Regions from separate parts of the Homo sapiens genome. Here region 2 is linked to region 1. Evidence: promoter capture Hi-C in 16 types of primary human blood cells and fetal thymus (Javierre and others, 2016). All regions are on one chromosome and are shown on one strand. The core of a region is centred on a gene start or on the middle of the fragment in contact, and the rest is flanking DNA. Distances in the headings are between cores, read along the strand shown.

Evidence for each region. The method cuts DNA at HindIII sites, captures the fragments that hold promoters and counts their contacts. A CHiCAGO score of 5 or more calls a contact.
Region 2: a contact is called between the fragment with the promoter of MAST4-AS1 here and the fragment with the promoter of MCCC2 in region 1, in 3 of 17 cell types (naive CD4 T cells, non-activated CD4 T cells and total CD4 T cells). The highest score is 7.6, in naive CD4 T cells.

What each region holds. Positions count from the first base shown.
Region 1 is chr5:71,585,066-71,589,796 of GRCh38, reverse strand. It overlaps MCCC2 (methylcrotonyl-CoA carboxylase subunit 2), which reads right to left and starts at 2,457. Exons shown (of 17, transcript NM_022132.5): 1 at 2,243-2,457. The coding sequence starts at 2,371. RefSeq lists an enhancer at 2,012-2,798. The HindIII fragment of the contact is 6,273 bases long and covers 1,160-4,731 here.
Region 2 is chr5:67,001,387-67,006,117 of GRCh38, reverse strand. MAST4-AS1 (MAST4 antisense RNA 1) reads left to right here and starts at 1,964. Exons shown (of 2, transcript NR_111908.1): 1 at 1,964-2,274; 2 at 4,069-4,500. The region is part of intron 4 of MAST4 (microtubule associated serine/threonine kinase family member 4); the gene reads right to left. RefSeq lists a silencer at 1,747-2,086. The HindIII fragment of the contact is 7,419 bases long and covers 1-4,731 here.

The DNA of each region.
Region 1 (4,731 bases), core at 1,208-3,707:
AACAATTGTACCTACTGCACAGGATCATTATGATAAATACATGAGTAAAACCACATAAAGCCTTTAGAAAAATGGTGGGTACACTATAAAATTCCTGCCATTATTATTACTTATTATAGTTGCTTTTATTTGTAATCAGGAAACACAGCTAAACTGGATCATTCATCCCATTCTCCCCCACCCTCATGGACTTGCTTTGTCTAATGTGAGCACACATTAATTTCATCACATGCCAGCAAGGATTTTAAATCCAATTTGTGTTCAGCCTCTTGCTCCTGTGCCTTCGGCCATGAGAAGGGCATGTTTAATTCAGGGCTGCTCTTCAGCCTCAGTCCAGGAATGGGAAGACACATGGAGCAGACCTGAACCTACCCTGCAGTGGAACAGTCACAGCAGCAGCTAACCAAAGGCCACCAACACGAGTGAGAGATTAAGAAACAAAACAAAATCAAGTGAGAGACTAATATTTACTGTTGTGAGTTACTGAGATTTTTTGATTATTTGTTACACAAAGCGCAACCTAGCAAAAGGTGATTCATACAAAACCCATCACCAAAGCCTTCTTTGTATTAATGGCAGTTCCACCTAACTAAATATTCTGCCCAGTTGGAAACTCCAAAGTCATCCATTTTCCCCTTCCACTCAGTTATTAACTCTATAATCTTTGCTCCTCAGGTATTTATGCCCCCCTCCTACATACAACTCTAACTTTGACTCCTTCATCTCAAGACTCAACTCTCCACTGTCACCTAGGTCTAGTCTTTTCCCTATATCAATCCATCCTCCACATTGCCACCACACTGATGATTCTACCATATCCATAGGATCATGCCACTTATCTACTTAAATATTTTAATGGACAACCTGCCAAATGGAATCTAAATGTGGCTTTTGCATGGAAGATCCTCCTCTATCTGGCCCCATAATCAATCAATCCCATCACCAGACACTATTCAATGAATTCCATGTCCTAGACATGGAATTCAAGTCCTCACACCAGATATACACTTTCATAACTCAGTACCTATGTTCTTGTAACTCTCTTGGTTTATACAGTCTTACCTTCCATCCTGCACCCTGAACTTGGCCAGCTCTTACCCAAGATTCATCTCACCCATTACTTCCTATCGGTAGCTTTCTGTAACCACCTTCTCAAGCTTTAGACAACCCTTCTTACACTGTACCACAGTTACCTGCTTTCTTGTCCATCTTCCCTACAAAATTATTAGTTCCATTCCTACGCATCCATGCCAAATATCTAAAATAGTGCCTAGACCACAATAACCACTTAATAATTCTGAATTAAACATTCTGGACTGACAAACAATTGTGTGTTGTTTGCACTATTTAGATGTTATCTGTATAGGCTTAGAAATCGTGGGAACACAGTGAAATTTTCCAGCTCTGATATTTCGCAAGTTTTGAGTTTTTTGGCCTTATGATGCCTCCTAATTCCAAGAAAAGCCACTCAAAGATACTGTGGGATATTTTCTATTAACATAACCAACTTTTTTTTTTTTTTTTTTTTGAGACAGAGTTCGCTCTTGTTGCCAAGGCTGGAGTGCAATGGCACGATCTCAGCTCACTGCAACCTCCGCCTCCCAAGTTCAAGCGATTCCCCTGCCTCAGCCTCCCAGGTAGCTGGGATTACAGGCGCGCGCCACCATGCCCGGCTAATTTTTGTATTCTTAGTAGAGATGGGGTTTCACCACGTTGGCCAGGCTGTTCTCGAACTCCTGATCTCAGGTAATCCACCCGCCAGGGCCTCCCAAAGCGCTGGGATTACAGGCGTGAGCCACTGGGCTCGGCCATCATAATCAACTTTTAAACTCAAATTTCCTAAGCACAGCGCCCCTCGTTGGGCTGCTCTAGGCCAGTGGTTCCCAAAGCTGGCTGCCAAAAGTCCCCTAATGAGTTCACTAACAATATAAACACAGCGACTCCACCTGAGACCCACAAGGTCCAGAGTAGGGCTCAGGCAGCTATTCAGCTAGCTCCCCAGGTGGCAATTCTAAACCAGGCTTTAAGAACCACTGATTTCAAAGACACAAAGTACAGTGCCAGCTCTAAAAGTGAACTAAACTTTCTTGTATCTGTTAGGCTTTTCTTCTTCAAACTTCACGTGCGTCACAGAATCAACTGGGGCTCCGGACAAGAGAGCAGCAGTTGTTGAAGCGTGCCCCTCCTCCACTTGCTTCCTAGCCTGGCACCGGCGGCCAGGCCACCGGGGCGCTCAGCCTACCTGGTAGAGGGCAGAGCCCAAGTCCGGCTGGGTGCCCAGCGAGGCCACCGAGTCCCCGTGATAGGCGCGCGGCCCGGCGGGAGAGGCGCGGGCACACGGCCGCAGGGCTAACCTCAGGACGGCCCACATGGCGGCGGGCACCGAGCGAGAGAGCGGCCCACGCTGGCCTGGAGCCGGTGCTTTCCCCTGCCGCTTCCCTGGCTGGGGCGGAAGCTGAGCTCAGGTCCTTGCAGCCCCAGAGAAGGTTTCTCTGATTCTCAGGCCTGTCCACACACGTGCCTAAGCGCGCCGCCCGCGATTGGTCAAGCCGCGCCACGCCCCCTGACCCAGCCAATAAGGGACAGAGCCTCAGCCCCGCGAGGTCGCGTCTAGTCCCGAGCGCAGGAGAGCAGGTCTCCCCGGCGGATCGACCCTCACGAAGCGGTGCGGCAGTGAGAGAGCTGCGGTTGGGCTTGGATTGGTGTTGTGTTGACACAGCGATAGATAATATCACGATAGTGACTGTACCTAAGGCAGGAGAATAAGTCTGGAAGCAGGGAACCTAAGGCTGTCTCACGCTGACTTCCTAGAGCTAAACTGAAAGGAAAACCCTAACTTTCCATGCCTAAGTAACAAAAGGACCAAAGGCTACTCCCTTTGCAAACCCCCCCACCTTTTCCGCAGGGCAGATAGGAAATTGGCTGTCCCCGACAAATCAGACTTACTGCTGGTGGAGGCTTGCTTTGCCAAGTTTGAACCTTAACTCCAGCCTCTGAATGGTTGCTGTCCACAACCAATCAGACTGATTGGGGGTCCAGTCTTCGTTTGCATAGAAGTATAACTTTGTAATTTCACCCTAGCCTCTGACTGCTTGCTTCTTGCAACCAATCGGGTTTGAGGTGAGCATAAAATGGCCAATAGGAAACTTCTAGTGGGTATTTGGACCCAAGAAGATTCTATATCCGGGCCCTTGAGCTCTGCTCGGTCCGCTCCCACATTGTGGAGTGCACTTTCGTTTTCGGTAAATCCCTGCTTTCGTTCTTTCGTTGCCTTGTTCTTTCTTTGCTTTGCTGGGCGTTTTGTCCAATTCTTTGTTCACAATGCCAAGAACCTGGACAACTTGCAGTCACAACCCCCAGTGACACACCAACAACATGAGTGAATCGCATCTAACACGTGCTTGCGAACAGCACAACAAGCCTGTTGTCCTTTCACTGGAGACCTTAAACATTCTTCTGATTATTTTCGCTATGTAGTTATTTTTATTTTTTACTTTATTTCATTTTTTGAGACAGGGCCTCACTCTGTCGCCCAGGCTGCAATGCAGTGGCACGATCACAGCTCGCTGAATCCTTGACCTCCCACCTCAGCCTTTCCAGTAGCTGAGACTACAGGTTTGTGCCACCAAGCCCGGCTAATTTTTTATTTTTGTAGGGGTTTCACCATGTTGGCTATGCTGGTCTTGAACTCCTGGACTCAAGCGATCTGCCCGCCACAGCCTCCCAAAGTGCTGGGATTACAGACATGAGCCACCACACCAGGCACTATGTAGTGACAGATTGTGGACATCAGCACTGTGGTCTTAAATAAAGGACTCCAAATATACCCATAAAAATTAAAACATTCTATACAAAATGCCTTGAACTTAAGGTTTTTCATTCACATATTTATTGAGCACTTACTACTTCTACTCCATTGGTTGCTTAGTGGGGCAGAGTAAAGGGGGAGGATGGGGTAGAGAAAGGGTGCGTCTACACCTGGAGGTAAACTTAGGTTCAGACTTCAAGGTACTTATAAGAAAATAATACAAATGGCCACATGATTTCTTACTGAACTGTGTAGGACAGACATTAAAGGAACAGAATGCAATTGGGAAAGGGTTGCAGCTGAGCCTTGCAGAAGCGTTGAGAGTGGACTGAGCAATGAACATGGCCAGGCTTTGTGCAAATGGAGGAGAGCATGAGCTAAACTGCAAAGGTATGATTTACACTGTGCTTGCCTCCCATGGTCAACAGAAAAAAAGGCCAGTAAAAACTGACTTTTCATATGTATCAGGGTATCAGAAGAGAGGGTTTGATATTTTAATTGCCACACTTTATTTTTCTCTAAATAGTTCTTCAATGATGCAAAGTACTTAAAATCACCACCCGAAGACAGAAAAGACACAATAGGATATGATTCCTTGCTTTCTTTAAAAGTCATACCTGTTTTGGCCGGGTGCAGTGGCTCATGCCTATCATCCTAGCACTTTGGAAGGCCAAGGCAGGTGGATTATCTGAGGTCAGAAGTTTGAGAGCAGCCTGGCCAACATGGTGGAACCTCATCTCTACTAAGAATACAAAAATTAGCCAGGCATAGTATCACGTGCCTGTAATCCCAGCTACCTGGGAGGCTGAGGCAGGAGAATCGCTGGAACCCGAGAGGCAGAGTCTGCAGTGAGCCGACATGGCACCACTGCACTCCAGCCTGGGTGACAGAGCAAGACTCTGTCTCAAAAAAAAAAAAAAAAA
Region 2 (4,731 bases), core at 715-3,214, 4.6 Mb after region 1:
GAAACCATGAAAAACTTCAAAAGGAAAAACTAAGTTTTCTAAAGTATCACATATCCACATTTATACTACAAAAAGTTACAGGTATAACCAAAAAGAACGAACCATTTTCTTGGGTTCTTTGAACACTGAAGCATAGAGATTGTGAAGCTCCAAATCTGAGAGCCTGCATCCTGTTTATCTGACTGCAAAGTTGCTCTCATGCATGTTCACATGTACATGCAAGGCAAGTTTTGAAGGAAAACAAAGAATCAGTATTAACACAACTCAAAAGGTGTGCCCCTCTAAAAGTACAACAATCTTACTTTTCTGTGCTGGACACAAATGTGGTGAGAAATGCCTCCTTCAAAGTCATAGTCTCTCAACACAAGTGTCAGCAAACTCTTGGAACTGCCTGTCACTTGTGGCATGAGCTTCATCTTGACATTAAAATTCTTTTTCTTTCCCCATCTTTTCTATCAAATATACGTTACAAAATGAAAAGGACACTCCTGTATTAGTAATAAATGCCAGCAAACCATTGAAAAATCAAAATGACAAAGTTATGTAGATCTGCCTCTCCACAGATAGTATGAAATAGCTAACCTGGGCTATCCTTGCATCGTACATCTGCATCTTATAAAGGTCAAATATTTAATAGAGAGGAACATCTGAAGGGCTCAACGAAAAGTACCAGAAGCCTCAATGACTGGGTGAATGAAATGGATAAACATGATCAGGTCAAAGGGACAGACTTAGACAAAGTATCTCCTCCTCTTTCCCTTTTTCTCCCCCACCTCTCACAAGGAAATGTCTTATTATCCACATTTCAAAAGGAGAAAACCTATGAGAAGCACATTTATCAGGGTTACCCAGGAAACCACAAGGACGAAGAAATACCTGAAACAGTACCCCCTCCCCTAGCGGGGCATAAACTTTTCAAAGTGTCACCCAATACACAAAACCCCAGCTCCTGAGGGGCTCAGGCAGCTCCGCCTGTGGGCCCCTGGGAAGTGAAAGCATTCCCTCTCCAGGCAGAGATCCCCGCGTTTTTACCTTTGTGTTCGCCGAAGCCTGTTCCCACTCCTCAAATGAGGCAAAGTAAAGTTTGAGAGCACAGTCCAAAAATTGGGGTCAGACATATCCATTTCTTTCTCTCTTCAATTCACTGTGGGTTCAAGGCCATATGACTAAAATGGGGAGAGGTAAAAAAAAGGAAGAAAGACAAGGCCAAAAATAAAAAAAAAATCCCAATTATCTACTCACTCCCTCCAGAGAAAATGTGATGGGAACTGTGATCTCAAGAACAACTTGGAGCATGTCTGAGAAGTACCCGTCCCGTCCTAGCCTTTAATTAACACACAGCCTCCTCTCAAAGGTCCGGGAAACTGATTTCCTCTCGGGTCTGCCCTCTCCTAGTCAGGCTCGGCCAGCTATAAACAGTAATTACATGAGTTGAGCCGTGCGTTCTGCTCAAAGCGCTGTCTGTGGGATTCAGTCGGAGGTACTTTGTCATCTGTTTGGCAGATACCACTCGCCGCTTCTGCGAGGGGCGGGGGAGACGACTATTTTGAGGCTTTGGTTCCGGAGGCTGTTGCTTATCAGCAAAACCATTCACATCCGAACATGCCCAGTGCCGAGTTTCCTTTTGGTATCTACATACAAGGAAAAGAATTTGAATAGAAAAAGCTGCTCTTGCCCTCCCCTCCTGAAAAAAGCGGAAACTTAAAAGCACTTTTAAAAAATGGGCCTATTGGAGGACTTGAACCTGACACCTTTGTGGACCCTTCCAGGGTCCGGCTGGGAGGAGGCGGCAGGGCCTTGTCCCTGGACAGCTTGGTGGCCGCGCCCCCAGCTTTCCTGCATCCCCCACCCCCCACCAGCCCCGGCCGCGCCTGAGGAGCGGGGGCTCACGGGAAAGGGAGCAGGCGGCCGCGGCGCGACCCCAGCCGGTGCCGGGACAGCCCCGCAGCCTGGGCCGCCGCTCCCCCTCCCCGGAGCCCGGAATGGATCCGTCCCGGAAATAAATAAATAAACCCGCGGCTGCTCCGGGTGTGTGCTGCGCGCACCTGAGGCCGACCTGTGATTCACCGCGGGAGGGATGGCAGTGACAACGCTCCGGGGAAGTCCACAGTGACTCCTCCGCCAGGACGCCGCTGGTTGTATAGGAAAAGCACGCGGACGGGAAGCCACACTCACCGAAAACCTCAGTAAACTAAATTTATGAGTTTACATCTGTTCCATCAATGACCACGGTGCACACCTGTTTGGCTTCATGGCCGGCAACTACAGATCTAGGTAATGGTGAGCCCCGATGTGGAAAGACACTACCTGGCATTTATGTGGCAAATGCTACAAGTATTGCCCCTTCAAGTACGTTAGACCTTGAAAGGGCAGAATGAAGGGGGCTGAATGTTCTTGTTATTCATTTTGAAGAAAGGCATGGTATTTAAATATCTCCCCCTATCCATGAATGTTTGTATAAAGTACATAAAGAAAAAATATAATTTAAATTAGCTGCCTTAAGTCTGGTGTAATATGGCAAGAAATACTAAATCAAAAAAGTATATATTCAGCAAAAAATACATCTAAAAATGGCTTAGTCCATGCAGTAAATACCAGGAACAAACTCGCTTACAAAAATGGGAGGATAAAGAGAAGGAAGAGGGGGTGTAAGCTGACAAGGTAGGCGGGGTAAACAAAAAGAAGCCTGCTGTGGGATCTTCTTTATCTAATTCTTGTGGCCCACATTAATATTTTCACACCAAGGACTCCAAGAGTTTTGGATGATGTTTCATGTCCAAGGCTTTCGTATGCGTTATCTCCTCACATTCTTACAGAGCCTCCACAGATCCTTGCAACCCACAGAGGTAGACAAAGAAGGCATTATTTTCTCAATTTTACATTTGGGACTTTATCCCAAACATTCAGGGACACTAAATGACAAAACACACTTCAATAGATATTAATGAGCTTGGTCCAGCATTTTTGCCCCATGCTCTTCTTTTAAAAAATGTTTCTAAGTATTGCAAAAGATGTTTTGAAGGCTGACACAAAAGAGTGTCCCTGTGCTCCGGAGCAGTTTCTAGACCTCAGCACTGTTGACATAGGCTGGATAATTCTTTGTCTGAGGAGCTTTCTTGAGCATTGGAGGATGTTTAGCAACATTGCTGACCTCGACCTACTAGATGCCAGTGCTGACAATTAAAAATGTCTGAGGACATTGCCAAATGTCCCTTGGGAGGTAAAATCACCCCTGGTTGGGAACCACTGCTCCAGATAAAGGCTTCTCTGAGAGGGGTGATACAGAGCACTGGTTTAGAGCAAAAATTTTGGGTCTGAATTCTGGATACAACACTTACTATGACCTTAAATCTCTTCTCATTTTCCCCAGCTGCAATATGGGGTCCATAATAGGACCAACCTGTAAGAGGCTGATATACATAAATGAAGAGGAGATGGCATACATAAGCCCTTTCACGCAATGTCTACACACACACTGCGCATAAATGTAGGCAGTATACAGAAGCTAAGAGAATACTATGCTGACAGACATAAGACTGGAGCAGAGGACACCCCACAATGTGCTTCTTTCTACTCTCTAGAGTCTTCAACCAGGCTGCTGATCACACTGTGTATAATTGACTGTTTACTGCTGTCTTTCCAATTAGTCTGAGTTCCTCAAGGCTAAAGTCACATTTTACTGATCTTCATATTTTCAGAACCTGACAGCTCCTCAGTTTATATAGGCATTTAATATTAGTAAATCCTTTTTGAATGGATACTTCAGAAGCCCAAGTATCTCTTATTTCTCTTAAGATGCACTGAAACTATTAGTACTAGTAGATCTGTATTCTCAAAGAATACTGAATTTTTGAGAATCCCATGAAGACGGTAAATTCTGAAGACTTTCTCTTAGTGACTTATTTGTATCTATATCATGTAGCTGGAAAGATATCAGTGCTAACATTCCTCAGGTCTTTACATGGCTCTAAGAAATGTCACAATCAAACTCAAGGGGAATTCCCTTTGAGTCCCATGTCCCCTCCTCAAAGGCAAGCCCAGAGAATAACTTTTTGTGCTCACTTGTAGGTATCCAAGATCAAGAGGGACAATTACATATTATAAGCCGCACAGAGAAGAGTAATCAAGGTGGACATGAACTTGTGCTATATAAGTTATGGGTTGAAGAACTCTGTGGAAAGTAGAGAAGAAAAAATTTAGGGAACAAGCAGTAGTTGAATACAGCTATGTGAAACTATGAGAACTATGTGAAAGAGTGTTTGGATCCAAAGATGAAAGAGCTGACACAAGAGTGGATTTTCTGAGAGCTGTTTGAGCAGAGAAAACTTGAAGGAGATACAGTGAGTAGAACACAACCTGTAGGTGGTTTGAAGACCTGAGGACTCCAATACCTCCCAACTCTCATATTCTCTATAGTTTTTCTAGAAAAGCCCATGTATTGGGGCATAACCTATAAAGATGATAGCAACTAAAATGGATAAATCAATGACATAAAATGTTTATTTCTTCTCTTGATTAAATGACAGATACCCCAATCTGCAGGCATCATATGTTATGACTGCCTCCACTCTCTGCATTTTGAGAAAGCCTCTACAGAAATTCTCAAAGGAATGGGTAAAGACATGAGTATTTTTAACTACATATACTTTAAATTTATTTTTTTTTTTTGCATTTAAAAGGCTTGAGAGGATTTGGGTTGTATCCAAACTGAAAAAATAAAAATAGGTTAAG